Regions from separate parts of the Homo sapiens genome. Here region 2 is linked to region 1. Evidence: promoter capture Hi-C in 16 types of primary human blood cells and fetal thymus (Javierre and others, 2016). All regions are on one chromosome and are shown on one strand. The core of a region is centred on a gene start or on the middle of the fragment in contact, and the rest is flanking DNA. Distances in the headings are between cores, read along the strand shown.

What was found. The method cuts DNA at HindIII sites, captures the fragments that hold promoters and counts their contacts. A CHiCAGO score of 5 or more calls a contact.
Region 2: the fragment with the promoter of OR2AG2 here is called in contact with the fragment with the promoter of DNHD1 in region 1 in 4 of 17 cell types (non-activated CD4 T cells, total CD8 T cells, naive CD8 T cells and 1 more); the score reaches 7.8 in non-activated CD4 T cells.

The regions. Positions count from the first base shown.
Region 1 is chr11:6,495,857-6,499,170 of GRCh38, reverse strand. It overlaps DNHD1 (dynein heavy chain domain 1), which reads right to left and starts at 1,891. Exons shown (of 43, transcript NM_144666.3): 1 at 1,840-1,891; 2 at 1,504-1,586; 3 at 210-1,400. The coding sequence starts at 955. The HindIII fragment of the contact is 5,087 bases long and covers 1-3,314 here.
Region 2 is chr11:6,770,255-6,773,568 of GRCh38, reverse strand. It overlaps OR2AG2 (olfactory receptor family 2 subfamily AG member 2), which reads left to right and starts at 1,593. Exons shown (of 2, transcript NM_001004490.2): 1 at 1,593-1,947. The HindIII fragment of the contact is 9,473 bases long and covers 1-3,314 here.

The DNA of each region.
Region 1 (3,314 bases), core at 642-3,141:
CTCTATGGGGATTAAGACTAACACCACTGGGTTTATTTTGCAGAGAAAAAGGAAGAGGAAAGTAGCCTCACACTAGCTTTGTGTGGAGTTGGGCTAATCCCTGTGATAAACAGAGAGCTGGATCTAAACTTCCAAGTGACCCCAGAGGCACCCATAAAACAGCAACTTTTTCTCCTCTGCTCAAGCCCTAGACTGAGTCCCTCACTTACCTGGTCTCTTTTCTTCCAACAGGCTCCACCTCTGCATTGTCAGTGTCACTGCTTTCATACCGTACAGGGATGTCCGCTGCCAGTGCCAAGGGAAGGAGACTAAGTCCATCCAGCCACACAGCCTCTTCTAGGGCCACCTGAGCACCAACAATGCCCAGGCAGCGCTGTAGCTCAGGCAGTGTCAATGGTCGCAGCCAGGTGGCCAGCTCCTCCTTTACTTGCTGCCTGCTCCACTGGGCCTGCACAAAAGGGCAAGCTGGGCATGGGGGCCTGTGATGGAGCCTCCGCTTCTGGGGACAGCAGTCAGCATGGGAAGCACTGTCTAACAAAGAGCTGTCTGGAGGAAAGGCCTGGACAATGGCACCTAGCAGGTCCAGATGGAGGTGGGTTTGGACCCAGGGTGCCCAGCAGTACAGCTGCTCCAGGAAGGGCAGCAAATCAAGGTGGCCAACTAGCAACTCACGATATGGAGGCAGTAGACCCAGTACTGCATGAAGATAGCGCCAAGCTGCAGGGCTACTGTCCTGCAACACAGCTGAGAACAGAGTTCGGAGCTCAGCTAGCAGGAGTTCCAGCACTGTGGGCTGCTCTGACTCAGTCACTGGCTTCACGAACTGCCTCTGTTTCTGCTGGCAGGCCAAGGGCTGTTCTTTGCTGTCCAAGACACATATGGAGTGCCAAGACTTAAGGGAATCAGATGATGTCTCATCAGAAGACAAACCTACCCTCCTCTCCTCCGGGACCATGAGGAGCTGGGCATTCAACTGCTGTCGAAGTGACCTTGCCCATAGCTCAGGCTCCAACTGCCAGTTCCAGGATGCCAGATGCGGGGCCTCACCTGCATGGGCCAGCCCAGCAGAGGGGCCAGAGAAGGGACCTCAGGCTCTGGGCAGGGGATGGTCAGAGTCAATGGGGTTAGGAGGAAGAAAGGACCTGGGACAGGGAAATAGATGGAGCTACAGAGCAGAGCCAGACCAGCAGAGAGCCTTTCCTGAGACCCTCAGGCCCTCCCTACTGCTTCCCCAAAGACTCTGGTAAGGAGCAGGCCTAAGACAGACGTGAGAGCCCTCCTTGCAGAAGAGTTCCTTCTTACCTCCCAGTACCCTGTCCCCCTCACCTGGCCTAGGGGGGTTAGGAGGCAAGGCAAGGGAAGAGAGCCCGATCTGCTGATGAGGTTTCATTGAAGAGTGCCTGCTGGAGCAGTGAATGAACTTAGACTTGAGTTCCAGTCTGAGGCTCACCCTAATCATAGCCACCCATACACGGAGAGACTCGCACACAGACGTGCAATCACCTGAAGAGGCAAACTGACACACCGACAGAGCTCACTCTGAACCTCGGTCACAGCAAGGAATCTGCACTCGAGCTGGCGATCGCCTGAAAAACGGGTTAACAGGTCGTCACTCGAAGGCAGCAGAGCCCCAGTCCCATGACGTCTTCGCCCACAGCCTAAGGAGGTCGTGAAGACAGAAAGCCGAGGAGCAGGCACAGCAAATGATGGTCAGGATGCAGGTAGGGGAAGACGTTAACAGGCAAAGGAGGGGGCTGGGAGAGCGGGGAAGAGGAGGCGGACTCTGTGGGAGGGGGTCCTAGGGAACAAAGAGAAATGGATCCGGAGCCGAGGACTCACCCGCAGCTCCACCCGCACCCAGCTGTTAGAACCGTTACAAGATTCCAGAAGGACCGAGTCTTTGCCAGGAGCATCCGGGGGAGCCAGAAAGAGGAGGGGCCAGGGTCCGATATGGGCGGGGCCGAGAGGGCAGAGCCCAAGCCTGGAGGGGCAGAACTAGGTTCAACCTGTGGGCTAAGGCTTGCCTGGGACAGGGACCTGTAGAGGACCAGGCGGGGTCTGAACTGCACGTGCAGTACGGTTGACTCGGGAGACTAGCAATCCAGAGGGTGTCGTAAGCAGGTGTTTATATCCATTCGCTGAGTATCTAAACTAGTGCCAGGTCTTTGGTATGTCTTTGGTACTCCCCCATCCCCACCCCCAACGTATCCATCTACCCTATCCCACCTCCCCAAAAGAAGCCCGAATAAAACAAAATCCTTGATCTCAAGGAGCTCAACATCTATTTGGCACGGGGGGAGGGGGATTTTTTGGGGAAGGGCTTATGGAGGGGCTAATTTTTAAAAATTAAGTTGAATGAGGCCGGGCGCGGTGGCTCATGCCTGTAATCCCAGCATTTTGAGAGGCCGAGGCGGGTGGATCACGAGGTCAGGAGATCGAGACCATCCTGGCTAACACGGTGAAACCCTGTCTCTACTAAAAATACAAAAAAATTAGCCGAGCGTGGCGGTGGGCGCCTGTAGTCCCAGCTACTGGGGAGGCTGAGGCAGGAGAATGGCGTGAACCCAGGAGGCGGAGCTTGCAGTGAGCAGAGATCGCGCCACTGCACTCCAGCCTGGGCGACAGAGGGAGACTCTATCTCAAAAAAAAAAAAAAAAAAAAAAAAGTTGATGATTAAAATAAAAAAAGAAATTCAGCCCACCTCTCCTCTGAAATCAGATTAGTATATCCAACTGCCTACTTAATGTCTCCACCTGGAGAGCTTATAGGTATCTCAAACTTAAAATGTCCAAAAGCAGGCTCCTAACCACCCTTTCCCCACCAAAGAAATGCTGCTCCTTTCACTGTCTTTCCCACCTCAGTCAATGGCAAATCCATTCTTTCTGGTTTCTCACACCAAAACCTTGGAGTCAGCTTTGAGACCTCTTCCAAACCCCTTCTTTCTCTTTCCCTCTTCTTTTTCCCTTTCTCTTTCTCTCTCTCCCCCTCCCTCCATAAGTAATCCTTCAGGAAATTCTGCTGGTTGTGCCTTCAGAATATATCCAGAATCCAACTATTTCCCACCATCTTAAGTACTACAACCTTGGTCTAAGCTGCTATCATTTCTCACCTGGGTTTTTCCACAGCCTTTGAACTGTTCTCCTTGCCTCAGATCCTTCTCATGCTTCTCACCATTGCCCCTACAATCCATTCTTTTTAGAGCAGCCAGTGATCCTTTTCAAATATAGGCAGATCCTATAACTCCTCTGCTCATAGCTCACTAATGCCCCCTCATCTAATTCCTTCAGCTGAAGGCCAAAGTCCTATCATGGCCT
Region 2 (3,314 bases), core at 344-2,843, 270 kb before region 1:
AACATAAAAGGAGCCTAAAAATTAATCAACTTTAGATAGTTCTTTAGGATGTTAGTCCACCATCTTCTCAGTTTGCTGGCTTTCTGAAATAAAGTTGTCTTCCTTGCCCCAACACCTTTTCTCTCCACTTATTGGCTGTCGTGTGGCAAGTAGTAGAAGATTTGGACTCGACCACATTTAGCAGTCCAGCTCTCTGCCTCCTTTCACTATAACTATTAACGCAAATTTCATGTCCATCATTTTCTTTCTTCATTTATATGTAGTTTTATTGAATGTACACATATTTATAGGAAGTTTATTTTCACTTAAGTTCTTAACACTGCAAAAGAAGTACCACGATATATAATCCTAAGGTGTCTCTTGCTTCCCTTAATATTAGTTTCCTAAGTTGCTTTTTTTGTTGTATGCTCTGGTTCCTTTGTTTAGATTCCTACATAGTAACCCTTTGGTGCATATCTATCTATTCCACTGTTGATGGGCATAAAGGTCGTTTCTAATTTTTATTGTACTGTGAATAATGCTGCTCTTATAATTTACATGTTTAAAACCGTCTTTTCAGTACATTCCTTTTATAATTAAAAAATAAAAAGATTTTTATATTAGTTCTTCTGTTGCACTTCTGAAATAATTTTGAGTATATATTTTATATAAACAGAAAGTGGAAACTTATTTTTATTTTTTTTAAGTTCAAAGAGAAAAGATATGATAACTCCGGAAGAAATTTTCAGCATTTCCTGGTGAAATGGCTGATTAAAGAGATACTAAAGAATGAGGAAGATTAAGCACAGAATTGGGTGAGAGATGGGAAAGCCTGAACTAAAAGCAGAAGTGAGTGCAAGCAGGTGCTGTGTCATCATCCCAAAGCTCTGAGCAGCTCAGCTGACTGATCACAGAATATGTAGGCCCATGAACAAATGAACACACACAAGAGGGAGTAGAAAGGAGAAACAAAGAACTGAAAAATAAATTAGTGCTGGATCCTCATTAAAGCTCAGTGAAGGAAGACCTGATATTAACAGAAGCATAGTTAACTCCCTCTAGTTGGTAATAGCCCAGGCTAGTGGCACAAAGAGGGATATGTGAGTGGCAGCATCTATAGAACCCATGAGACAGACTTTATATTTTGGACAGAGGGCTGGACAGGGAGGTGTTGCTTTTCAGATTGGTTACTGACACTATCTATTTTGTCAGAAACAGCCTCTGTCTGGTTTTCCGGTCAGTGATTTCTAGGTTAAAATTATAGTTTTGGTTTTGTAAGGCAGGAGAAAGATCTTAGACTCCAATGAGTGGTGAGACACAGCAAGCCCATGGCGGGCAGAACAAGGCCTCAAGGTTCAGAGCTCATTTGGTGGTAAAGTTTGAAGAAATGGCAGGCCAGGAGACATGCCCAAGGGGATTTATTAAAATCCCATTTCCTGGAGCAATATTTTCAGGGGAGGTCATGTCAGCTGAGAGGGTGAGACTATGAACCCTCCCCCAGGACAGGCCTCACTGTTGGCGCAGAGACAGTAAGGCTGGGCATTGGTGGGTCTCTTTTAAGCAGCTCTTCTTATACCTCTTTTCTCACATTCCTGCTGTGCTCCTCTTTTATCATGAAACACAGCATGAGGGGAATATATGAAATCTGAGGACCTGGACTTAAGAACTCAGCTAGAACCATTCCAAAGCAGTAAGGACTTTCTCGCAAGGACAGTGAATGAGAGAACTTTGGAAGAGATTCAGCTCCTCACTTCTGCAGGATCCTGCCCTAGGTTCTCAGCTGCCTGTCTGCATCTATCTCTACTTCCAGAGAGGACTTGCAGTGCCAGTGACTGGAGGAGCCTTTGATCTCTGATCCTAGAGACAGCCATACACACACCTACATTCATCCTGGCCAGAAGAAGCAACTTTTCTTTCTTTGGCTTCTTGAACCTCTTTACCTGGAAGCTATGCCCCTTCCCATATGAGGTAAGGGCTCTGTCTCCGTTTCAAGGCAATATGGGAAGTCTGGAAGTCCTGAGAAACAGGGTCAAGACCTTACACTGCTCTCCTTCTCAGATTCTCTAGTTCCTCAGGCTTTATGATTCACTCACTCCCATCTATATCTTATCAACCTTGTACATGTACCCATCTTGCACATGTAGGAACAACCAAAATAATTCTATGCCATTGGCCAGCCGTGAGTTCCTAGAATTCCTGATGATGGCCTCCTGGTAAAAGTCTCAGTACTTACCTTTGTTACATCTAGATTTTCCTGGCCTCCAGTAGTTTGATGTGAGTCCCCAAATGAATAGTACCTCAAAGGAGGACTATCTAAAATATGCTGAAGTGCCTTTCCCCTGCAGGACTGCTTGGCGCTAAGTCCAGTGCCACACAAAAAGCCAAATGAAGTAAATACAAAAAATAAATATACTGAGCAGAGATGAAAAAGAAAAACTTATAAAATATACTTCCAAAAATTTAGCTCTACCTTGTTAATTGACTGACCATTTTCCATAAACTATAGCAATGCCTCTTAATATCAGCCTCTGCTGACTTCTCTTGGTTTGAAATACCCGCAACCACCAGCAGTTTTCCAGAATGAAGCTCTTCCTCTGTAGGCCCAGTGTGTGTTCTCTGGCCTTTCCCTTTAGATGACCCCAGAGAGAACTCAGTAAATGGAAAGAAGGGAAAACAATAGTCCCGTATCAGAGGGAGGAGGTAGGTATGTAGGATCCTGAGTCCTGGTTACACCACCTTACCCAAGCCCTGATTTTTCTTCTCTTTGAAATCCTGTCCAAACATCTGGTGCAGGAAGCTAGAAGAATGTGCCCAGCTAATTATGTTCCTCCTTTTATTTACCTGTCCATTCATCTTTTTATTCAAGAAAAATGAAGGCATTTCAAATCTAATATTTAGCAGAAATAGTGCTTAGAATTGACTTTGGACTTGTGTTTTTGTTGTCAACAGACAAATAAGGTTTTCCGGTCAGTGGGTCAGTGGTTCCTAGGTTAAAATTATAGTTTTGATTTTGTAAGGCAGGAGAAAATTCTTAGACTACATTGCGTGGTGAAACACAGTTTTATACAGGGTATTTTTCTGGGGGTTTCTTGTCCAGACTTCACTGGGCAAAAGTGCAAGGAGGACATTCATGTACTGTATTTTAAGGTTCTGACTTTCACGGTACCATCCCTCACTTTTTTTTTTTTAATTATATCCTGACCCATTTTGATTTAGCCACCTCCTATTTATCCTCAGCCTTTAGTCTGTATACCACTTCCTTGGTGAATCCTTTCCTGAAAACTCACTTATATGTTCTCCTAGTGTATTTTCTTTCATGTATTTTTTTTTCACTG